7 separate regions of the Homo sapiens genome follow, and regions 1, 2, 3, 4, 5 and 7 are each linked to region 6. The links are contacts of gene promoters, found by promoter capture Hi-C in blood cells and fetal thymus (Javierre and others, 2016). All regions are on one chromosome and are shown on one strand. The core of a region is centred on a gene start or on the middle of the fragment in contact, and the rest is flanking DNA. Distances in the headings are between cores, read along the strand shown.

Evidence for each region. Contacts are between HindIII fragments. The CHiCAGO score rates a contact against its expected background, and 5 or more counts as called.
Region 1: a fragment that was not itself captured here is called in contact with the fragment with the promoter of DSTN in region 6 in 7 of 17 cell types (M0 macrophages, naive B cells, total B cells and 4 more); the score reaches 8.9 in M0 macrophages.
Region 2: a contact is called between a fragment that was not itself captured here and the fragment with the promoter of DSTN in region 6, in 2 of 17 cell types (monocytes and neutrophils). The highest score is 6.2, in monocytes.
Region 3: a contact is called between a fragment that was not itself captured here and the fragment with the promoter of DSTN in region 6, in 2 of 17 cell types (total B cells and naive B cells). The highest score is 6.4, in total B cells.
Region 4: a fragment that was not itself captured here is called in contact with the fragment with the promoter of DSTN in region 6 in 11 of 17 cell types (total B cells, naive B cells, monocytes and 8 more); the score reaches 16.2 in total B cells.
Region 5: a contact is called between a fragment that was not itself captured here and the fragment with the promoter of DSTN in region 6, in 14 of 17 cell types (fetal thymus, activated CD4 T cells, total CD8 T cells and 11 more). The highest score is 11.6, in fetal thymus.
Region 7: a contact is called between a fragment that was not itself captured here and the fragment with the promoter of DSTN in region 6, in 1 of 17 cell types (naive B cells). The highest score is 6.2, in naive B cells.

What each region holds. Positions count from the first base shown.
Region 1 is chr20:17,903,452-17,907,066 of GRCh38, forward strand. It overlaps the pseudogene RNU6-192P. Among named protein-coding and RNA genes, the nearest start is that of SNORD17, 58 kb to the right of the region's middle. RefSeq lists an enhancer at 708-767 and a silencer at 3,609-3,615. The HindIII fragment of the contact is 1,108 bases long and covers 1,402-2,509 here.
Region 2 is chr20:18,051,961-18,055,438 of GRCh38, forward strand. All of the region lies in intron 2 of OVOL2 (ovo like zinc finger 2), which reads right to left. Among named protein-coding and RNA genes, the nearest start is that of OVOL2, 4.2 kb to the right of the region's middle. RefSeq lists an enhancer at 1,533-2,033. The HindIII fragment of the contact is 9,441 bases long and covers 1-3,478 here.
Region 3 is chr20:17,887,105-17,890,685 of GRCh38, forward strand. No RefSeq gene overlaps it. Among named protein-coding and RNA genes, the nearest start is that of SNORD17, 74 kb to the right of the region's middle. RefSeq lists a silencer at 341-635 and an enhancer at 518-1,717. The HindIII fragment of the contact is 4,582 bases long and covers 1-3,581 here.
Region 4 is chr20:17,998,365-18,001,625 of GRCh38, forward strand. No RefSeq gene overlaps it. Among named protein-coding and RNA genes, the nearest start is that of MGME1, 31 kb to the left of the region's middle. RefSeq lists an enhancer at 1,561-2,062. The HindIII fragment of the contact is 3,176 bases long and covers 353-3,261 here.
Region 5 is chr20:17,979,118-17,982,350 of GRCh38, forward strand. The region is part of intron 3 of MGME1 (mitochondrial genome maintenance exonuclease 1); the gene reads left to right. Among named protein-coding and RNA genes, the nearest start is that of MGME1, 12 kb to the left of the region's middle. The HindIII fragment of the contact is 5,928 bases long and covers 1-3,233 here.
Region 6 is chr20:17,568,293-17,571,731 of GRCh38, forward strand. DSTN (destrin, actin depolymerizing factor) reads left to right here and starts at 1,783. Exons shown (of 4, transcript NM_006870.4): 1 at 1,783-1,919. The coding sequence starts at 1,917. It also overlaps a transcript of BFSP1 not described here. RefSeq lists an enhancer at 746-1,313 and silencers at 1,724-1,913, 1,934-2,223. The HindIII fragment of the contact is 8,997 bases long and covers 1-2,569 here.
Region 7 is chr20:18,028,519-18,032,076 of GRCh38, forward strand. All of the region lies in intron 3 of OVOL2 (ovo like zinc finger 2), which reads right to left. Among named protein-coding and RNA genes, the nearest start is that of OVOL2, 28 kb to the right of the region's middle. The HindIII fragment of the contact is 2,472 bases long and covers 881-3,352 here.

The DNA of each region.
Region 1 (3,615 bases), core at 706-3,205, 340 kb after region 6:
GGAGTCAAAGTGCTGTCTTTGGCAGCACATGTATAAAATTGGAATGAAGGCCGGGCACCGTGGCTCACGTCTGTAATCCCAGCACTTTGGGAGGCTGAAGTGGGCGGATCACTTGAGGCCAGGAGTTCGAGACCAGTCTGGCCAACATGATGAAACCCGTTTCTACTAAAACTATGAAAACTAGCCGGGCGTGGTGGTGCATGCCTGTAATTCCAGCTACTCGGGAGGCTGAAGCAGGAACTCAGGAGGCACAGGTTTCAATGAGCCGAGATCACGCCACTGTACTCCAGCCTGGGTAACAGAGTGACACTCTGTCTCTAAATAAATAAATAAAACTGGAACAATACAGAGAAGATTAGCATGGCCCCTGCAAGGATGACACACGAATTCATGAAAAGTTCCATATCAATAAAAATTATTTTAAAATTTTTTTAAAAGAATGAGTTAAAGGAGACCCCAAAGGAGTGAGTGGGGGCTGGAGGCCAGGCCCACCATGGCAGAGGGTCAGACTTCATCAGGGTGAAAACTTCCTGCTGTGAAAAGCCAAACTACAGACTGGGAGAAAATGTTCACAGCACCTGTATCTGAAAAAGGATTTGCATTCCAAATACATAAAGAACCCATACAACTCACTAATAGGAAGGCAAACAGTGAAAACTGAGCAAAAGACATGAACAGACACTTCACAAAGGACATGCAAATGGCCAGCACGCACAGGAAGAGATGCTCACCCTCAGTAGTCTTCAGGGAGATGCAGAATGAAACCACAGTAAGATGCTACCTCACACTCACAAGCATGGCTGAAAATAAAAAGATGTGTAATACCAGTATTGGTTAGAATGTAGGGCAGCTGAAACTCCTAGCTCACTGGCAGGAACTTAAAATAGTACAGGCTGGATGCAGTGGCTCACGTCTGTAATCCCAGCACTTTGGGAGGCCAAGACGGGCAGACTGCTTGAGCCCAGGAGTTTGAGACCAGCCTGGGCAATGTGGCAAAACCCCATCTCTACTAAAAATACAAAAAATTAGCTGGGTGTGGTGGCATGCATCTGTAATACCAACTACCCCAGCAGGCTGAAGTGGGAGAATCACCTGAGCCAGGGAGGTCGAGACTGCAGTGAGCTGTGATCATGCTACTGCTCTCCAGCCTGGGTGATAGAGTGAGACCCTGTCTCAAAAAATAAAGATACAAATAAAATAAAATAGTACAACTGCTTGGGAGAACTACTGGAGTTTATTTTAAATCTAAACAAACACCCACCATTTGACCCAGCAATTCTACTGTTATGTATTTACTGAAGTACCATAAAAACATAGGCCCACAAAAAGACTTGTACACAAATGTGAATAGGCGTAAGTAGCTAGTGGCCACCATAATGCTGTTGGATTTGATTGCTCAAAAGCTTGTGGAAGTCTACATTGGAATAATAGGTTGCCTTTTTAAAAGGCTTGTATCCAAATGTGCGTAACAGCTTTATTCACGATTGCTAAAAATTGGAAACAATTCAAGTAATCCATCAACTAGGAAATGGGTAAACAAAATTTGTTCTCTTCATAGAAAGGGATAGTAATAAAAAGATTGAAATTACTAATAGATGCAACAACATGGATGAGTCTTAAAATCACTGTGTAAAATAAAAGCTGGATGCAAGAGTGCCTACCATATGATTCATTTATATAAAATTTTTAAACAAAGAGAACTAATTTATAGTTACAGAAAGCAGATCAACGATGAACTGGGACTGAGGTGACTGCAAGTGGGGGACTAAAACACTTTCTGGGGTGATGGACAGGTGTTATATCTTGTTTAGGTGCATGCATTTGTCAAAAGTTGTCCAACTGAATGCTTAAAATGTATGAATGAGTTTTATTGTATGTAAATTATACCTCAATAACGTTTATTTAAAATGAATTGGCCGGCACGGTGGCTTACGCCTGTAACCCCAGAACAGCACTTTGGGAGGCTGAGGCGGGTAGATCACCTGAGGTCAGGAGTTCAAGACCAGCCTGGCCAACATGGTGAAACCCTGTCTCTACTAAAAATACAAAAAAAAAAAGAAAAAAAAATTAGCCGGGCGTGGTGACAGGCACCTGTAATCCCAGCTACTCGGGAGTCTGAGGAAGGAGAATTGCTTGAACCCAGGAGGCGGAGGTTGCAGTGAGCCGAGATCGTGCCATTGCACTCCAGCATGAGAGACAGGGCAAGACTCCGTCTCAAAAATAAATAAATAAAATGAATCAAAAATAAAAATATAAAAAAATAGCAGAAAAGAAAAAAGGACAAGAATAAAATAAAAATAAAGAAAAGAAAAATAAAGAAAAAAATAAGAAACTTTGTGGTAAAAATAATAAAACAGTAAAATAGGAAGAGCACACAGAATGGGAAGAGAAATGGACCAAGGTGAAAACCGTGAAGAGCTGTCGAACTTGAAGAATAGAAAAGGAAGAATGAGCAGAGATGCACAGGCAGAGGTCAGAATGAAGTCCTCTGGGGGTCAAAGAAGTAAGAAGCTTGGTGGCCACAGACAGCAGAGAGTTAAAAGAGCCAAGGGGGCCAGCCAGTAAGATTAATGCCTGGAGAGGGCTGTAGGATGGGGCCCGAGTGGAGAAGTGACTCCTGAGAGGCCAGTTCTGAAGGTGGGTTGAGGGGTGATAACTTGGGCTGAGGGAGCAGAGAAGGAGCCTTCGGCAGCTTTGTCAGGGAGCCTGGGGAAGGAGAGTGGGCTCCAACAGGAGGCTGCTGGGAGAACCCCAGGGGAAACCCACCTGGTGGCCTCAATCTCCTGACACTGTCTTTCACGTCTTCATTCCTACACAGGGATAGATATTGCTATTTGACCACTGCCCCTGCACAAGGTGTGCCAAAAGTCCCCAAGCCCCTTTCCCATAAGAAGTTTACTGTATGTTTGCACTGAGGAAAGCTAAATAAGCTAGGTGAATTCCCCACCCCAAATTCCTAGGGATGCCGCTGGCTTGCCCCACCAAATCGGTCTCTCCTATCTGCCTGTATTGCTGGTGGGAATGTACTTTGGTTTGACTTCCATAGGAGCTGGTTTGGCAAAAACTATCAAAACTACAAATGCACACTGGAGGTACAAATACAACAGGAGGTATTTATGCTACGATAAACTTGCACACGGATGAAACCATGTATGTACTTGGTTATTTGTTGCCTCATTGTGATGCTGTTTGATCAAAACAGACCCAAATGCCCCTCAAGAAGGCCATTAGATAAATACTAATATGTTTTGTTTTGTTTTGTTTTGTTGAGATGGGGTTTCACTCTTGTTGCCCAGGCTGAAGTGCAATGGCATGATCTTGGCTCACTGCAACCTCTGCCTCCTAGATTCAAGTGATTCTCCTGCCTCAGCCTCTCGAGTAGTTGGGATTACAGGTGCCCATCACAACACCCAGCTACTTTTTGTATTTTTAATAGAGACAGGGTTTCGCCATGTTGGCCAGGCTGGTCTTGAACTCCTCACCTCAGGTGATCCACCCACCTCGGCCTCCCAAAGTGCTGAAATTACAGGCATGAGCCACCTCACATGGCCGTATTTTTTTTTTTTTTTTGAGACAGAGTCTTGTTCTGTCGCCCAAGTTGAAGTGCAGTGGCGC
Region 2 (3,478 bases), core at 453-2,952, 480 kb after region 6:
AACTCCTGACCTCAGGTGATCCGCCCGCCTCGGCCTCCCAAAGTGCTGGGATTACAGGCATGAGCTATGGCGCCTGGTCTAATTGTTAATTCTTAATTGACTATGGCTGTGATAGTCACATGTGATACTGGATGCTGCAGCTGCAGATCCAACTATCCGTTTAGAGAAAACCTAGGGGACTGAGAAACATTAGGCACATGGTGATGCGCTCAGCAAAATCCAGACTGTTGGGGACTCTACAAAACAAATCACCCATTTCTTCAACAATTAACTTGATGGAGGGAAAATGTATGAAATTAAAAGAGGCTCAAAAGACATGCCAATCAATTACAATGTGTGGACATTATGTGGACCTGATTAAGCAAACTGGAGGGGAAAAGTATTAATTTATGAGACAATTAGTAATGTGAACACAATTGGTAATGTGGGTGTGATCATGAATTTTGGTCTTTATCCACTAAACGCACATTCTGAACTATTTATGGTTGAAATGGTATGATGTCCTAGATTTGCTTCAGAATCATGCATGGGGCAAGGGGTGGGAGTGTGGCTGGGCAGGACTGGCCATGGGTTAATGGTTGTTGGGGCTGGGTGGCAGATACGTATGACTATGCCTTTGAGATTGTAAATAATACAAAGTGATGGGGGTATGGGGACTACTCCGTAGACACACATCTGCACCACTACAAGACTCGATAGAGAGCCGGGTAAAAGGCCAAGCATACTTTTGAAAGAATCTAAACTTAATTTATTTTGAAGAACCCATGGGAGAGGACAAAAAGAAAGAACAGAATAGGAAAGGGTGAGAGGACAAATTCACTTGGTACTCCATACTTGGACCTGGGTCCTACCAGCCAGAGAATCACGTATGAATACTATCAGCCAACTTCAGAGTTACTTACTTTCTAATAAGCCTCCAAAGGACAATGGTGATTAGTATTTCCTGGGTTTCTCTACCCCGCAGCTGAAGACCTGCAGATGGATCCAGCACAAAAGGGACCTGCCATGCACACTCTCTGGAATGTACATCATCTTCTCACCCTTATTTGTTTGGCAAATTACAGAATTCTCAGTAGTAAAGAGACAATTTCACAATCTGCCCTGAGGCACACCGTCAAAAGGCAGGTAGGCTGGGAAGGGCCAGCCACATTTCCTAATCTGCACCTCGGACTCCTTTTCCAGATCCACCCATCAACACGATCAAGTTAGTGAATCCCATGTCCTTACAGCCAACAAAATGTTGGGCATTAAAACTTGCTGTATGTCACTGTCAGCTAACTTCCTCTTGGGCAGTTTACACATGCACAGAAAGCTAAACACTTTACACCCACTATCTCATTTAATCTATGCAACTCTTCTAGGAGGCTGATTCTTTGAGTCCTCCACTTTACAGATCAAGGAACTGAGGCTCAGAAGAGATAATGATCCATGAACACAGCCGTTAAGAGGGACCCAAATGGCAGGGCGCGGTGGCTCACACCTGTAATCCCAGCACTTTGGGAGGCCAAGGTGGGCAGATCACCTGAGGTCAGGAGTTCAAGACCAGCCTGGACAACATGGCGAAACTTCGTCTCTATTAAAAATACAAAAATCAGCCAGGCTTTGTGGTAGGTGCCTGTAATCCCAGCTACTTGGGAGGCTGAGGCAGGAGAATCACTTGAACCTGGGAGGCAGAGTTTGCAGTGAGCTGAGATTGCGCAACTGTACTCCAGCTCCAGGCGACAGAGAGAGACTCTGTCTCAAAAAAAAAAAAAAAAAAGAGGAACCCGATTGAGGTTTTCCTTCTTACATCATCCAGAGCTTCTCCTCTGCCCAGCAGGAGCACCCATATTTCTTGGCTTGGCCCCTTCACCATCTCACCCTGTCCTGGTTACATTTCCAGCTCTTTACCGCCAACTCTCTCCCTGACCCCAGCAAGCCCTGTTTCCTATCTTCAGCCACCAGAGCTTCATCCTTTCTATGCTCCAGCTGCGGGACTCAGCCCACACTGCCCTCAGGCCCACCCGCCTCCCTTCTCCCCAGCCTTCAAATCCACATCAGGACACTTTCCCCACTCAAATCGGTCACGTCTTTGTTTGGAATTCTGGTTTCACATTCACTGTCCTGCAGCAGAGTTAATAATGTTTGTGTCTCCCTATTAACCTGAATACTATCTATGGTTATTGGGCACATACCATGTTCTACCCTCCACTCATTTATCCTCACGATGCTATCAAGTAGGTATCATTATCATCTTACAGATAAGGAAACCGAGGCTCAGAGGGGTGAGCCACTTGCTCAAGGTCCACAGCTAAGAAGTGACAAAGCCAGAGCTTATATGATTAACCGCTACTGCCAGATGATTCTGGAAGGAACACCAGGGTGGGAGCATTTTTACCTCCTGCTGCCTTGCACACCCCAGGTGTTAGACGGGCAGAGTGTTGCTTCTCTGTGCCAGGCAATAGCTCAAACCTGCCCTTCTTGTGGTCCTGGGAGCCCACTGCCTAAGAAACTAATTCTTGGCTGGATGCGGTGGCTCACGCCTGTAATCCCAGCACTTTGGGAGGCTGAGGCAGGCGGATCACCTGAGGTCGGGAGTTCAAGACCAGGCTGACCAACATGGAGAAACCCTGTCTCTACTAAAATTACAAAATTAGCCGGCGATGGTGGCGTATGCCTGTAATCCCAGCTGCTCGGAAGGCTGAGGCAGGAGAATCACTTGAACCCGGGAGGCAGAGGTTGCAGTGAGCTAAGATCCAGCCATTGCACTCAGCTAAGATCCAGCCATTGCACTCCAGCCTGGGCAACAACAGCGAAACTCCATCTCAAAAAAAAAAAAAAAAGAAAGAAAAGAAAAGAAAAGAAAAGAAACTAATTCTTAGAGAAATTGTGAGTTCAGCATGCCTTGGAAAGAACTTTATAATTATACAACGTGCTAAGTCACAGGCAATTTGGTCAGTCATTTGAAAACTGCCAATGCCATGGCTGATAATAATTCTGGAGGCTTGGAGCATATTAACACCAAAATGTTTCCTTTTTGGGGGTAGAGGCAGAAAGAGGGAACCTAAACATCCCCAGTAAATAAAAATTCCCCTGGAAACTATGGAAAGAAGACTCTTAACGGTTCAGGAGTGAACTGTGCCTCCCGCCCCCCTTCCCCCAGCACACAGGCAACTAATCTAGGAAATAAGATTGGTTTACGTCTTCCTTTAATCCAGGATTCCAACGGCCCTGTGTGCCTGAGGCAGAAGAGTTTGCCTAAAATATTTGTTAAGAGACTGGATGAGAATCTGTCACTTTCTCTCCAGGGGAATCTGGGCAATTGGGGGACAGAGGGGCAAACTAGCTGCAGAGGCTCCCAAAACAACGTTGCAATTGTCCTTCCAGCCTGGTGATAAATATGCAAGTGGGGCACTTTGTAGAATCTCCCGAAGGGCAGAGCTACCAGCCTCAGGCAAATTTTTCCCTCCCACTTAACCCCACCTGGCCCGGAAGAGCC
Region 3 (3,581 bases), core at 103-2,602, 320 kb after region 6:
TTATTTATTTAGAGACAGAGTCTTGCCCTGTCACCCAGGCTGGAGTGCAGTGGTATGATCTTGGCTCACCGCAACCTCTGCCTCCCGGATTCAAGCGATTCTCCTGCCTCAGCCTCCTGAGTAGCTGGGATTACAGGCACATGCCACCGCACCCAGCTAATTTTTGTATTTTTATTAGAAACAGGGTTTCACCATGTTGGCCAGCGTTGTCTTGAACTCCTGGCCACAAGTGATCCGCCCACCTCGGCCTCCCAAACTGGTAGGATTATAGGTGTGAGCCAGCGCGCCCAGCCAGAAGCTGTTTTTAATAACTGACCTTTTCAGACAAATCCCAGCAAACTTTCTCCCTTAGCACCATCTCTGAGGCCACGGTGGGTGGGGTGTGTCACCACGCCTCTCTGTAACACCTCCTGTGCCCTCTTGAAATGGTTATTGTTTCCTGAGTGGTGGCTGTGGACTTGTGGCCTCGTTAAGTCATATTATCTCAATGGAAGCCATTGTCTCCTGCTGGAGGCTCCACGGCTCCTGTCTTCATAATGCAACACCCTGACCCTGAAGTCTTGCTCTGTGGAGACTGTAACAAGATCCTGGCAGGGCTCAAAGGAAACCTTTCTTCTCTCCCAGCACATGCAGAAGTCCCACTGGCAGGGCCAAGGCATGGAGCTCTCCATCCCGGAACTGGGGCTTGAACTTGGCCAACCTGAGTTGGGGCAGATCATACCCTCCAGCTCTGGTCTGTCCTGATTTTCTTCTGGCCACAGCACATCCCCTCCCACTGTTCCTGTGGCAGCCAGCCTTCCAGATGCACCCCACCTCCTGGCAATCCTGCCCTCATGTAGTCCCCTCCCACATTAAATAGGGCTGACCTGTGTTACCAGTTGTGGAAATGACAGACTGTGACCAGGTCATCATAGATATTGCGGCTTCCATCTTGCTCTCTCTTGAATCACTCACGATGGCGAGAGTCAGCTGCCATGTTGTGAGGCTGCTTAAGCAGCCCTGTGCAGGCGTCCAGAAGGTGAAAAACTGAGGCCTCCTGCCAACAGCCACACGAACTCATCATCCGTGGTGGGAAGCCATCTCCAGCCCCAGCCACGCCTTCAGGTGACTACAAACCCAGCTGCATCTTGATGCCAACCTCATGAGTCAGAAGCCACTCCTGGATTCCCAACCCACAGAAACTGTGAGACATTAAATGATTATTGTTGCTTTAGGCCACTATGTTTTGTTCCACGGGATGATTTGTTCCACAGCATTAGCTAGCTAATATTCGTCCAGAGAGGTCAGCCTCCTGGGGTCAGAGTAGAGGAGGTCAGAGAATGAACACGGAGGGGCAGACAATGCAGAGTCAGAACACTTGGTTTCCTGATCCCATATTGTCCTGCTACACATTTTCAAAAAGGGGAGGGGTATTAAAAATGAAGCAAAGTAGTTCAGTATGCTTCAACCAGCCGTGATCACCCTGGGACCATCTGCTTCTATGAACTGGACACTATCGTCCCATAGTGCCCCAAATTAGGTTCCCCTTACAAAAACAGCACCACGCTGGTGGCGACTGAAACCCTGAGCTTCTTTTCACACACACCGCCCAGACCGCCCAGACCTCCTCAACTGGTTCTATGCTTGGACACCAGATTTCTCTTTAAAACCTAACTTTCTCTGATATCAATTGATCTTGGCCTTACTCCAAAGTTCCAATCTATCGAAATCACTTTCATCTCCCATTTGGCTGTCACTTTCACTGTTCCCTCCAATATGTGTCACCTGCACATCTGACCCTGTACTTTCTGCCATCTTCATCCAGAAAGTGGACTGAACGTTGATTGGCTAGGGCAGAGCTCACCACAGAGCCCTTTGGTACTCCATGACCACCAGGGCAACGGACTCCTTGATGGCAAACACTTTGCTGATAGACGTGCAATCTGCCATAAATCCCACCAAAAAACACCGTCATTACCAGTGAGTTTGCCAATCCTTTATTAAAATGCCGGCTGGGGGTGGTGGCCTATGCCTGTAGTCCCAGCTACTCAGGAGGCTGAGACTGGATCACTGGGGCCCAGGTGTTCGAGATTGGCATAAACAACATAGCAAGACCCTGTCTCACAAAAAAACAAAAAACAAAAAACAAAAAAAAACAGTAACATAAAATGCTGGCTGGACACAAATTTATTTACCCCATTATCCAGTACTGTCTAAAAAGAAAGTTGGTTTGTGTATTCGTTGCCTGTGGTTGCTATAATTACCATGAACTTTTGGTCTTAAAACAACAGAAATTTATTACCTCACAGTCCTGGAGACCAGAAGTCTGAAATCAGTGCCACCAAACTGAAATCAATCCATCAGTGGGGCTGTGCTCCCTCTGGAGGCTTTAGGAGAGAAACTGTTCCTTGCCTCTTCCAGCTTCTGGGAGCTACAGCATTCCTTGGCTTATGGCCACATCACTCTAATTCTCACATCCAGTGTCTTCAAATCCTTCTCTTCTCTGTCTTCACATGGCTTTCTTCTCTGAGTGTGAGTCAAGTCTAACTCTGTCTTATATGGACACTTGTGATGGCATTTAGGGCCCACAGGAGAGTCCAGGATAATCTCTTATCTCAAGATTCTTACTCACTTCTGCAAAGACCCATTTTTCTTACAGGGTAACATTTATAGGCTCCAAGGGTTAGGACCTGATATCTCTAGGGGGCCATTATGCCACCCACCACAGCTGGGCACAGCTCATCCCCACCAAACTCTCCCACCTCACCATCACTGCATTTTTTTTCCCTGCTGTTCACAAATGAGTTTATGTCACGCTCTGCTCTATAATTTTCCAAAAGTCAACATCAAGGTTACTGTCTCTACATTTTGGAATCTGCTTGAGACCTGTAATTCACCCAGCCACATCAGTCTGGACATTAAAAAGAGGTCATAATAAACAAAAATAGCATTTCTTAGGTTTGCCATTATTGCTGGCTCTCCAGTCCCTTAGAAACGTCAAGAATTCTCAGAATGTGTTCTCAAGTGGAGGCAGCATAGAGGTTGCAATCAGCTTCTCAAGTCAGACTGCCTGGGTCTGAATACTGCCTCTGTCACTATGGCCAACTGTGTCTTCCAAAGATGGCCACAAAAATCTCTCCCTTCCCACATGCTCTTCTGCAGCATGGCCTTGCCCCATCCCACCAGGGGGTCCATTTCTTCACCCCGCTCTAAAATGCATATGGCACAAGTGACACTGCCATTTAAAGACAAGGCCCTTAACAGTTGCCTGTTCCTGTCTCTTGGAATGTTTGTTCTTGAGACTCTACGCTCAGAACTCAGCCACCATGTTGTGAGGAAGCCCTCACCACATGAAGAGACCCCTTGCAGAAGTTCTGGCAGACTGCCTCAGCTGAGCTTCCTGCCATCAATGGCCAGTGTGCAAGTGAGCCACTGTGGGCCTCCAGCCCAGTCGAGCCTTCAGACCCTCCAGCCCCAGCCAACACCTGACTGCAGCCATGGCAGACCCCAAGTGAAAGCCACCCAGCTGAGCCCAGCCAATTCACAGAAGCAGAAGTAATTGCGAAGTGTTGTTTTAAGCCACTGGATTTGGGGACAGCTCA
Region 4 (3,261 bases), core at 691-3,190, 430 kb after region 6:
GCTAATTTTTTGTATTTTTAGTAGAGACGGGGTTTTTTCATGTTGGCTGGCTGGTCTCGAACTCCTGACCTCAGGTGATCCATCCACCTTGGCCTCCCAAAGTGCTGCGATTATAGGCGTGAGCCACCATGTCTGGCCCAGAATAGTGTTTTAAGAGAGAGATGAGTAAAGAGACAAACAACAGAGGAAACTGCCATTTCCTAGAGCAGCAGAAAAAGAGCTGGGTATCAGAATGGCTCACCAGAGAAATTTGGTTAGTGCTGGTCACCCCTTTGATAAGAGGCTGTGGGTTGACTTGTGAGCTCAGTGATTTGAAAGTTTTGAGTATATGAAGAAAAAAAAAAGAAATGAAAGCTTTGTGTAGAACTAGGGGAGTCTCGCAGTGAAACAAGACTTGCAAAATAGGATTAATGAGGCAGTACAGATAAGGATGCGATGCTGAAGAAAGTCATGGGATTGTAGTTAGACGGTGTATAAATCAGAGAGCTAAAACCAATAGGGCTTGTAGATATAGGTATATGACAGGGGATTTATTAGGGGAATGGGCTCACACAATTATGGGGGCTGAGAAGTCCTACGGTCTGCTGTCTGCAGGCTGGAAAACCAGGGAAGCTGGTAGCATGGCTCCGTCCAAGTTCAAAAGCCTCAGAACCAGAGAACCTGATAGCACTCAGTCTCAGGCCGAAAGCCTGAGAATCCAGGAGGCCACTGGTGTCCCAGAGTCCAAAAGCTGGAGAAGCTGGAGTTCTGATGTCCAAGGGCAGGAGAAGAAGGGTGTTCCAGCTCCAGAAAACAGAGCAAATCCTCCTTTCCTTTGCCTTTTTGTTATCCTGGCCCTCAGCTGATGGACGGTGCCCCCTGACATTGAGTGAGGATGGATCTTCCTTACTCAGTCCACTGATTCAAATGCCAGTTTCTTCCAGAAACACCTCACAGACACCTCAAAATAATGCTTCGCCAGCTGTCTGGGTGTCATTAATCCAGTTACGCTGACACCTAAGATTGACCATCATAGGTGGTAATTCATTCCTTTACCCGACAAATGTCTTATTGAATATTCATGTCTGCCTTGTGCTAGTTTTTTGCAAAATGCATGGAGCTGACAGTCTAGAGAAAGGGCAAACAATTAATAAGTGAGAAAGTTAGTATGAAAATTACAGATTGACAGTGCCATGAAGAAACAGAGGATCACTGAGCCAGGAGGAGAATTGCAACTTTGGATTGTGTGGTCAGAGAGGGCTCCTCTGAGGGGCGACACATAACATGATACTTGAAGGAGGAAAGGAGGAAACGTGGCCAGCACTGCAGAGAGCCACAGGAAGAATATTCCAGCAGAAGGATCAGCATGTTCAAAGGCCCCAGGGTAGGAAAGAACAGCATGTTACAGGAGCTATAAGAACACAGGGGTGGCCAGAAGGCAGTGGGGAAAGGAAAGGAATTGCAGGCTGCAGAAGTGGGCGGGGGAGCCAGATGATGTCAAACTCAATATGCCATGGTAAGGAGTTTAGATTTTACTCTAAGATGGAAAGACAGGGATAAGCAGGGGAATAAAGCCATTCCATTGCCTTTTAAGAAGAGCGGGGCCAAGTGCAGTGGCTCTCACCGGTAATCCCAGCACTTTGGGAGGCCAAGGCAGGAGATCACTTGAGCCCAGGAGTTCGAAACCAGCCTGGGCAACATAGTGAGACCTCCACCTCTATTTTTTTTTATTTTATCTTATCTATTTTATTTTATTTATTTTGAGATGGAGTTTTGCTCTTGTCGCCTAGGCTGGAATGCAATGGCGCCACTTCGACTCACCGCAACATCTGCCTCCCAGGTTCGAGTGATTCTCCTGCCTCAGCCTCCCGAGTAGCTGGGATTACAGGTGCATGCCAACGCCACCATGCCTGGCTAATTTTTGTATTTTTAGTAGAGATGGGGTTTCACCAGGCTGGTCTCGAACTCCTGACCTCAAACGATCCACCTGCCTCGGCCTCCCAAAGTGCTGGGATTACAGGCATGAGCCACCGTACCTGGCCTAATTTAATTAAAATTATTTAAAAGACGAAGAAGAAGAAAAAGAAGAAGAAGAGGAGGAGGAGGAGGCGGCGGCGGCAGCAGCAGCAGCAGAAGCAGATCAGCATTGTTTGGAGAGCAGAATGCAGGAGGCAAGTGCTGAAGCACAGCCTGGCTGGACTATTATAGACAGAGCTATTATAATAGGAGTCAGCACACTGGCTCATCCACCAAATCCGGCTTGCTGCCTGATACAGTCTTTATACGGTCTGTGAGCATAGAGTTGTTTTTACATTTTTAAATGTTTGGAAAAAAAATCAAAAGTAGAGTCTTTTTATGGCATATATAATTTTTATAAAATTGTAAAGATTCGAATTCCAGTGTCTGTAAGTCAAGGTTTCCTGGAACACAGCATCACCCATTTGCTTTTGACTCTGGCTGCTTTCCTTCTGTAGCTGCAGGTTAAGTCGGTAACAGAGGCTGTATGGCCTGCAAAGCCTCAAGTATTTACTATCTGGACTTCTATAGAGTAAGTCTGCCGACTCTCAGTCTAGATGATAGAAGAGGTAGGCTGGCCTAGAGAAATGGCAGAGGAGGTGCTGGGAAGGAAGATTCGAGATGTATTTTGGGAGCCTTGCCTGAGGGTTTGAATGAGATGAGTGATGAAGAAGTATAAATGGAAGGTAAGTTGTAGGTTTAGGGCATGTGTGTTATTTGCTGACATGGGAAAGGCTGGAGGGAGAAAATCCAGGTCCAGCCCCATCTTTTCTCCTCACTAACACTATCAGTTAGCTTTGCTGTGCAATAAATCACCCAGCCTGGGCAACATGGTGAGACTCGCTTCTAGAAAAAACGGAAAAAAACAAAATAAAACAAACTAGCTGGTTGTGGTGGCACATGCCTGTGGTCCCAGCTACTTGGGAGGCTGAGTTGGGAGGATCGCTTGAGCCTGGGAGATAGAGGTTGCAGTGAGTCATGTTTGTGCCACAGCACTCCAGTCTGGGTGACAGAGTGAGACCTTGTCTCAAAAACAAGTAAATAAAAATCACCCCCAAATTCAGTGGTTTACGACTTATTTCTCATGATTCTGAGGTCAAGCTGAGCATTTCTGGTCTGTGCTGGCTCAAGTAGGGCTAGATGATTTAGGATGTCATCACTTAGATGTCTGAGGGTTGGCCTGGTGTCAGCTGGGGCCATGGAGATGCCTGGGCCTGGTGACTCTCATCCTCCAGAGGGCTAACCTGGGCTCTCATTCACGCAGCA
Region 5 (3,233 bases), core at 598-3,097, 410 kb after region 6:
CCAAGCTGGAGTGCGGTGGCATGATCTCGGCTCACTGCAACGTCCACCTCGCAGGCCCAAGCGATTCTCCCACCTCAGCCTCCTGAGTAGTTGGGACCACAGATGCGAACAACCACGCCCAGCTAATTTTTTTGTATGTTTTGTAGAGATGGGGTTTTGCCATGTTGCTCAGGCTGATCTAGAATTCCTGAACTCAAGCAAGCTGCCTGTCTCCGTCTCCCAAAGTGCTGGGATTTACAGGTGTGAGGCACCGCGCCCAGCTAAGAATTTTTTATTTTTGTTATTTTTTTAATTTTATTTATTTATTTTTTTGAGATGGAGTCTTGCTCTGTCACCCAGGCTGGAGTGCAGTGGCGCGATCTCGGCTCACTGCACGCTCCGCCTCGGGTTCACGCCATTCTCCTACCTCAGCCTCCCCAGCAGCTGGGACTACAGGCGCATGCCACCACGCCCGGCTAATTTTTTTTTTTTTGTATTTTTAGTAGAGACAGGGTTTCACCGTGTTAGCCACAATGGTCTCGATCTCCTGACCTCGTGATCTGCCCGCCTCGGCCTCCCAAAGTGCTGGGATTACAGGTGTGAGCCACCGCACCGGGCCTAATAATTTTTTATTTTATTTTAGTTTATTTTTTTGAGGCAGTCTTTCACTGTCACCCATGCTGGAGTGCAGTGATGCATTCAGGGCTCACTGCAGTCTCTAACTCCCCAGGCTCAGGCTGTCCTTCCACCTCAGCTTCCCAAATAGCTGGAACTACAGGGATGCACCACCACACCCAACTAATTTTTCTATTTTTTGTAGATGTGGGGTCTCACCATTTTGCTCAGGCTGGTCTTGAACTCCTGGGCTCAAGTGATCCACCACCTCAGCCTCTCAAAGTGTTGGAATTACAAACGTGAGCCCCTATGCCTGGCCGATTTTGTTTTTGAGAAGGAGTTTTGCTGTTGTCGCCCAGGCTGGAGTACAATGGCGAGATCTTGGCTCACTACAACCTCTGCTTCCCGGGTTCAAGTGATTCTCCTGCCTCAGCCTCTCTAGTAGCTGGGATTACAGGCGCCTGCTACCATACCCAGCTCATTTTTGTATTTTTCATAGAGACGGGGTTTCACCATGTTGGCCAGGCTGGTCTCAAGCTCCTGACCTCAGGAGATCTGCCTGCCTCGGCCTCCCAAAGTGCTGGGATTACAGGTGTGAGCCACTGTGCCCGACCCCACTGAATTTTTAATGGGTAATATGCTATTAAGAGTAACTCCCCACACCCACTCTGTATTGAACCTCTGTTTAAAAAGCTCCTGTGTTCCTGAGATATTGTATGACCATATGTACAATCATTTGTCCCCACACTCATTTTTTAACACAAGATGATATACCCTGCTTTTTTCCACTTAAAAAAATTATTTAAAAAAAAATCAGGCTGGGCGCAGTGGCTCACACCTGTAATCCCAGTACTTTGGGAGGCCAAGGCAGGCAGATCACGAGGTCAGAAGATTGAGACCATCCTGGCTAACACGGTGAAACCCCATCTCTACTAAAAATACAAAAAGTTAGCCAGGCATGGTGGCAGGCGCCTGTAGTCCCAGCTACTTGGGAGGCTGAGGCAGGAGAATGGCGTGAACCCGGGAGGCGGAGCTGGCAGTGAGCTGAGATCACGCCACTGCACTCTAGCATGGGTGACAGAGTGAGACTCCATCTCAAAAAAAAAAAAAAAATCTTTTATTAGTTTATATAGATCTGTAACATTCTTTTCTCATGTAATAATTTTCCACCACCCACAATTAACACTTAACACTGGTGCATTTGCTTAAAACTTTTTTTTTCCTTATCCCTGTGATTACATGGAGATCTTTTTTTTAAAGAAATATAATATTACAGATTAACCCCAAATTCTGTTGAACCACCCGTGGCCAAAGGCGATTGCTGTTTTAAGTTTGGCACTACCTCCTTCTAGTCTGCCTTCTACGCTCTTTTTTGTTCTTTTCTTTTTTTAATGACCAATGATCTGTGACACAGCATCAGGAGAACCTAAGAATATGTGCCCTCTATACTCTTAGCACACACATAATGCTATGTATAATACACATGCATAGGCAGCACTTATGTATGATTTCATGCAGAACTGTGACAGTCATAATATACAGACATCTCTAGATACACAGCATCACAAAGCTAGTAAGATATTGGGCTCAGGAGCCAGCTGCTTGAGTTTGGATTCTGGCTTGGCTTTTCATCTTAACCTTAGATTAATTACTTAGTCGCTCTCTGTCTCAATTTATTCATCTTTAAGATAAGACAAATGGTAGTACCTACCTTGTTATAAAATGAGATATTCCCTGAAGAGTGCTTAATGCATACTATGTATTCAGTAGATGTTACATTATTATTTTGATCTACTTCTTTTTTTACTTTTTTATAGAAATAATTCTTGCTGTGTTGCCCAGACTAATCTAGAACTGGGAAGGAAGTATGATCCTCACCTCAGCCTCCCAAAGTGCTGGGATTACAGGCGTGAGCCACCTTGCCCAATCTACTACTCGTGTGTGTGTGTGTGTGTGTGTGTGTGTGTGTGTGTGTCAGAGTCTCGCTCTATTGCCCAGGCTGGAGTGCAGTGGCACAATCTGGACTCACTATAACCTCCGCCTCCCAGGTTCCAGCAATTCTGCCTCGCCCTCCTGAGTAGCTGGGATTACAGGTGCCTGGCTAATTTTTTTTGTATTTTTAATAGAGACAGGGTTTTGCCATGTTGGCCAGGCTTGTTTCGAACTCCTGACCTAAGGTGATCCACCCATCTCAGCCTCCCAAAGTGCTGGGATTACAGACTTGAGCCACTGCACCTGGCCCTACTTCTCTCTTAACTCGTTTTTTGTATTCTTTTGTATGAATGAGCCTTACCCATTTCCCTATTGGGAACACTCAGATTATTTCTAGTTTTCCACAATTACAAACAGTGCTGCAGCAAATGTGCCTCTTTGTATATTACAGAGCTGTTCTAGGCAGATGCACAGATTCATTTGTTTATTTATTTTTTTTCTTGAGACGGAGTTTCACCCTTGTTGCCCAGGCTGGAGTGAAATGGTGCGGCACCGCAACTTCCACCTCCTGGGTTCAAGCGATTCTCCTGTCTTGTACTCCCAAGTGGCTGAGATTACAGGCATGTGCCACCATGCTCAGCTAATTTTTTGTTTTTAGTGGAGACAGGGTTTCACCATGTTGGCCAGGTTGGTCTCGAACTCCTGAC
Region 6 (3,439 bases), core at 533-3,032:
TGGAGGACGAAATGCAGGAGAGGCTGGAGCAAGCAGGCAGGCATGTATCCTTAAATGAGCACCATTCACTTTTGGACTAGAAAGGAAGTCTGAATATTAAGAAGTGTAAGGGCCACAGGGTCCTAGGCAGGCAGAAAAGCAAAGGGTTCCAGCTGCAGGAGGATACAGGGGGGTTCCTTCTCAGTTCAGGAGTGTGGTCTCGGACTGGCATCTTCAGCATCACCTAGGAGTTGTTAGAAATGCCCATTCTCAAGCATCATCTTAGAAGCAGTGAGGGAACCTTGGGGATGGGGCACACAAATCTAGCTTTGAACAACTTTTCCAGGTGATTCTGATGCATGCTAAAGAACCACTGCTCTAGCCCGCCAAAAATCATGTCTCAGGTGGTAAAGGCTTAGAACTGCACAACTTACTGTCTTTTTTAAAAAGAACGAGGGTAATGAGAAATGGGTTCCTATGTTGAGTGGGGCAGAACAAAAGCCACATACAACCTAGATTTTACGTAGTGCCGGAAAAAAAAATACTGACCATCTTGTCCAAAAGTCTCATATTTGGAGAATTAAAATAGTTTTGGTCGAGGCCATGATGTTCTCGGTAACCTAAATTAATTTATAAAATTCTTTGTTCCCTTTATTTCCCACAAAAACACCCGCAGCAAAAACGCTGGGATTCATCTGGGCCCTCTGAAAACCGTGTTTCCGACGCAACCGCCCATTAGAAAAACACAATTCCAAATTAAAAACCCGGAGAACTGAGCGGCGGGGCTGGCGCCACCGTCCCGGGACAGCGCGGCCTTTCCCAGCCACACCCCTGCGCGCCGCCGGCCTCCTTCCCCGGCAGTTCCCAAAGATAAATAAATGCTCCTTGTTTTTCCAGACCTGAAATTAACGGTGACTCACAGAGCACTCTGCATGGCCACGGTCGCCTCGGGAAGGAGGAAAAATGTGCAGACTTTTTTCCCCTCACGCGAGGGCAGGACAAGCCAGACTGGGCCAATCAGGGGAGGGCGGCGGGAATCGCACCAAAGTAGGTAAAAAATGCGGGAGGCGTCCCCGCTGCCGCGGCCCGCGACTCCGCTCCCGTGGGTCCTCCCCCAGTGCGTTCCCCCTCCTCGGGCCCTGCCCTCCCAACCCCCAACATCTCTCTCCTTCCACCACTGTGTCCCTCTCCCTCACCTCTCCCCTTGCCCCCACCTCCCCCACTAAGTGCCCCCTCGCCCCTCCCCCCACATCCCCCTCCTCTCCCCACACTGTCCCCTCTCCCTCACCTCTTCCCTCCCCTCTCCATCCTCCTCCTCCCCCAACTATGTGCCCCTCGCCTCTCCCCTCCAAATCCCCCTCCTTCCCACACTCTGTACCCCTCTCCCCCGGCTCTCCCCTCCTTTTCCCCTCCACGGCCTCGCCCCGCCCCAGCGGCAGGCACACCTGGCCAGGTGGCTGCCTCCCCGCGCGGGCCATGCCTGCACAGTGGGTGGGGCGTCAGGTGGCCCCGCCGAGGAGGCGAAGGAAGGCCACCCCTCCCCCATCATCTTTTGCCCGCCCCTCGCCAGCAGGAGCCAGCCCAGTCCGCCTTCTAGCCTCCTGCAGACCAGAGAGGACGCACCCCCACCCCTAAACACTTTCTGGTGAGGCGGACCCTGCCCCGCAGCCTTCAGCAGATGAGGGAAGCTCCCCTCCGAGACTCTGGATAGCCGCCGGGGGGGCGTTGCCTGGCCGGCTGGTTGCGTAGCAACGGCAGGCGGTGCGTGACGTGCGCAGCCGCGTTCCGTCCTGAGGCGCGCCCGCCCCGGGGTAAGCTCGCGCCGCCGCGTCAGCTCAGCGCTGGGTCTCTCGGTCCCGCAGCCGTGAGGAGGACGGTCTGCATACTCGCTGCCCGCCGGCTCCCTCCCCCGCGTCCCTGCGACCGCCGCGGCGAAGATGGTGAGTAGGAGGGAGGCCGAGGCGTGGGCCGAGGCGGCCGGGAGCAGTGTGTCTCTGGGGCGCCGCGGAGTCGGGGCTAAGGGGGTGAGCCGTGCCTCAGCCCGGGGAGGGACCCGGTCCGGCTGCAGTGTCCGGGCTGCGGGTGAGGGGGGGTCTCTGGGCCTCCGTCTCCCGCCGTCCTGGCTGGGCCCCCGCGCCCCGGGGTGGATCCGCGGCTGTTGCGCAGCTCCCAGCTGGGGCGAGGCCGCCGCCCTGAGCGTGGCCTCTGCGGGTGTCTCCAGACCCGGCCTTGCAACAACTGGCTGGGGTCGAGCGCCCCCACCCGCTCTGTGAAATCCATCCGGGGGTCTGCACACCGAGGCCGGGGAGTGGGGGGCGGGGGGCGTCGGAATCCGGCCACCGTCCTTGTTGGCGTGGGTTTCCCCAGAGCTGGCGCTGAGGCGCTTGGTGACTTGTGCGCGTTCCAGCCCTTGAGGTCTGTCCATCTCAATAAGGAAGATAAAGCCTTTATGGAACAGTCCTAGAGCACGGAATGATCGCTAACGAGCAGGATCCTGGCATGATTTAGAACGGGGTGGCCTTGCAGCTCCTTTGTTTTTTTCTTTTTATCTGGCAATCGGCTTCCAGCAGCACTCTCGTCGTGCTTGTCAAGCTTGGCAGTGTCTGTTTTAACCCTTCCCTGCCCGATCTGTCCGTGTATGGTTAGAATTTTTTTTCTGACCTGTAGACAGTTGGACTCTGCCAGAACTTGGTGCGCAAGGTGTGGGCATGATGCTGGGATGCTGATACAACCAAATTTAAGAGCTTTAAAAACCATTAAAATACTGGAGTCACCAGAAAGTAAACAGGTGCTCATTAGTATATTCTATATGATGGACATTTTGCTTAATTTACATATTTTCCCCCTTTACACTGTCACTCTAATTAGCTATTTAAAAACGTATTCTCAACTGAACTATCAGTTGGAACATTTTGTCGTTTTCGTTAGTGTGCACACACTGTTACCATTTTTGGTCAGTGATTTGCAGGCGTAGCCTTACCAGACTTTGCTAGAAATATTACACTGTAATTGCATCTGTCTAGAAGCAGTTGGTACCAGCTTATCTGCATACAAACTGTTTTCACTGTATAACAGTTTTGGTTTTCTTAAGTTACTACAACTTCCGTGAACATGCAGGCGGCCCCTTAGTGAAAGAAAAGATAAACCGGTAGTTTCTTGATGACTGTAGATATGTATGTAATAGGGATTTGATACTGTTCAGTTTTTGGTTCTTCTTTGGTTTAATGCTGTAAGCTACAAAGTATCAGCATCTTGAGTCTTTTTAATATCTAATTATTAGAAATTTAATAACATTTTAAATGTATATGCTACTTTATACTGAAAGACTTAATCTAGGGGCTTTGAGTTATGGTACGCTTAAGACCATTCACTCTGTGAAAGTGCTTTGAAGCTGACTAGGGTCTGCTCTAGAGACTTCTGATTTGACATTATGCTTTTTTATTGAGTGGCTAATACAGAC
Region 7 (3,558 bases), core at 867-3,366, 460 kb after region 6:
GCGGTGGCTCACGCTTGTAATCCTAGCATTTTGGGAGGCCGGGCTGGGTGGATCGCCTGAGGTCGGGAGTTCGAGACCTGCCTGGCCAATACAGTGAAACCCCGTCTCTAGTAAAAATACAAAAATTAGCCTGGTGTGGTGGCCCACATCTGTAATCTCAGCTACCTGGGAGAATGAGGCACGAAAATTGCTTGAACCCAGCAGGCAGAGGTTGCAGTGAGCTGAGATAGTGCCACCGCACTCCAGCCTGGGCAATAGAGCGAGACCCTGTCTCAAATAAATACATAAATAAATAAACAAAATAAATAACAAAAGGTTACTATTAATAGTTGTTTAAATTTAAAAGTAATATACCCCCCAGTTTTATGGTGAAAAACAGCAGTAAATTAAAAAAAATAAAACAGAAAAGATCCCTTTGTCACCCCATGCACCTCTCCTTCCCTAGTCCTAACTCGCAAGTTTCTTGTGATCCTTCACATTTTCTACAAATTATATATATGTACATTTTTATTTTATTTTATTTTTTGAGAAGGAGTCTCACTCTGTCTCCCAGGCTGCAGTGCAGTGGCACAATGTCGGCTCACTGCAACCTCTGCCTCCTGGGTTCAAGCGAGTATCCTGCCTCAGCCTCCCTAGTAGCTGGGACCACAGGTGCCTGCTACAATGTCCAGCTAACTTTTGTATTTTTTTAGTAGAGACCGGGTTTCACCATGTTGACCAGGCTGATCTTGAACTCCTGACCTCAGGAGATCCACCTGCCTCGGCCTCCCAAAGTGCTGGGATTACAGGCATGAGCCACCACGCCCGGCCTACATATGTATTTTAAGATTAATAAATATATGTCATCTCTGGGTGTTGCCTGAGCAGGAGAATTTGTTAAAGCTTCCCCAGGAGGCTCTAGTGTGCAGCCAAGTATGAAAACGAGAGTTCTAAATAAATGCACATTCACATTGGCATATGCACGGATGTACATGTTTCCGAAACATAAACCTGGGGTTCTGGAGAGACGGTCTGGAGGGTGGTGAAGGCTTACACTTGCCATTGCGTCCCTGTCTGTACTACTTCCCATCTCCAACCACCTGCCAGTATTAATAATAATAATTTTCGTACTAACTGTGGTTCCTTCTGGGCAGTGTAATGACAATGAATCTCCCACCTTTTCTCTTAAAACTATTCTAGGATGGGTGCATGGCTCACACCTGTAATCCCAGCACTTTGGGAGGCCAAGGCAGGAGGATCTCTTGAGTCCAGGAGTTCGAGACTAGCCTGGCGAACATGGGGAGATCCCTGTCTTTACAAAAAAGTAAAAAATTAGCTGGGCATGGTGGCATGCCCCTGTGGTCCCAGCTACTCAGGAGGCTAAGGTGGGAGAGATCACTGGAACCCAGGAATTCAAGGCTACAGTGAGCCATGATCGCACCACTGCACTCCAGCCTGGGCGAGAGTGAGACCCTGTCTCAGAAAAACAGAAAACAAACAAACCAACCCTCACCAATCAAGGTTAAGAAAGTTTTAAGGCAATATTTTAAAAATCAAAATATCGAATGAATGGATGAACTCTGTTGGTTCCAGGAAAGAAAGGCCACATCTTTGGGACTAGTTTTCCACATAGGCAAGGACTACAGACTCCTCTCCTAAGGAATGCGCCCGCTCTAGCTTTCATGTTTGCACTGTAATGCAGACTTTGTGTTTTCCCGGCCTTCTGGGCCCATGCAGCAGCGAGCAGCTGGCTCCCACTACCCAGTAGATCAAGCGGCAAACCCGATTTCCAACCTTCAGCTCATCAGAGCAGAAATCCACCCAGAGATTAGTTGCTCCTTTCACTAGTTAGTAGAAATAACCGACTACTGTTTTAAAACATCCAAACTAAAAATATGGGGAAGCTGGCACACTTAACATCAGGCTTTAACCTGGATGCAACAAACTCCTGGAGGTTCCCATCCTCAAAGGTGATCTGCCCCCGAGGAGAGGCCAGCCAGGCCACCACTCAGCCCCATGTGCACAGGGCCACATCTCCTTCCTCTCTTCAGTCAACACAGCCTCTGAGCATCTTCTATGAGCAGAGTACCCAGCAAGGCCTGGATAGCAAACGCTAGAAGATTCCAAAGCCCTGCATCATGCAAACAAGAGAGATGATGGCAGTGGGGGCTTTTTTTCCAGGGAGTGGGTAGAATTAGAGCCTGGCTTGGAAGAGGAGTGACTCGCAGACAGAGATGGAAAGGAGACATAGGCCCAGAAAGCTCCAGTTATGGCACTTCTGACTTTTGCCAAATGCACTGCTCTGTGCCCCAGCACTTCTGCTTCCCCATTTGCTAGTGTAAACGCCACCATTCACCCCTCATTCACTGGTGCGGGCACTGCCATGCGGCAGCCCCTTGGTGACCCTTTCTAGGCTTGGGAACAAGCACCTCCCTCCCAGAGCACCCCCATCACCCACACATTCAGGGGGACGTGGGTGGCCAGAGAGGAGCCCTGGGCAAGACGGACTGATGCCAAGGCCCCTCCCACCACTGAGGCTCACCCATCTTGGTGCTCTCACGCAAAGGCCAACCGTGCCTGTGTCTAAAGCAGGACATGGGAACTGAAGAGCACCACCCATGCGCTAGACGTCATTAACCTACTGACACCCACACGACTGTGAGTCCAAGGCCACCGAAGAGCCAGGCTGCGGATCTGCTGCTTATTAACTGAAACGGGGGCGGCTGCTCCAGCCCGAAAGGCCGTTTCCTCACCTGTCACAGGGGTGTCATAGCTCTTGCATGGCTGCTGTGAGGATTAGCCGAGATAGACTAAGTTCTCAATGGGATACAGCTCAACATAATGCAGATAAGCCTCATTCGTAAGCTGGCTGCTGACCAGCCTGGCCAATATGGTGAAACCCCACCTCTACTAAAAAATACAAAAAAAATTTAGCCGGGCATGGTGGCGAGTGCCTGTAATCCCAGCTACTCGGGAGGCCAGGGCAGGAGAATCGCTGGAATCTGGGAGGCAGAGGTTGCAGTGAGCTGAGATGGCGCCACTGCACTCCAACCTGGGTAACGGAGCGAGACTCTATCTCAGAAAAAAAACAAAACAAAAACATAAGCTGGCTGCTGGGTACATGAGTATTTCGCAGATTTGTCTTTAAACTGTACCTATATGTATACTTTTGTACGTGTTACTTATTTCACAACAAAAGGAAAGGATAATTTTTTAAAATGTGGCTGGTGGAGGAGAGGGGGGACTGCTTTCGCCGTCTGCCCTTTTGAATTTTGTACCATCAGCCTGTCCTACCTAGTCCGAAAAATATTGTTTATTGGGTTATCAAAAAGGGTTTGTTGTTTTCCATTTTTTTACCCCTAATAGCAAATCAAGCTTCGTGCCATACATCCTCAAGGAAAATTCTACACTTTGGAACTTTCTAGTTGCTTTCCTTGCTATAGCTCAACTGCTCCTTTACTGAACTTTATCCGAAGGTGAACTTCAGCGAGAAGATTTTTACAGGCATGCTTGTGGGAGTGGACATTTACGGCAGCCTCCCCGGAAGGCAATTTGGCAATGGCCATAAAAAAAAATCAC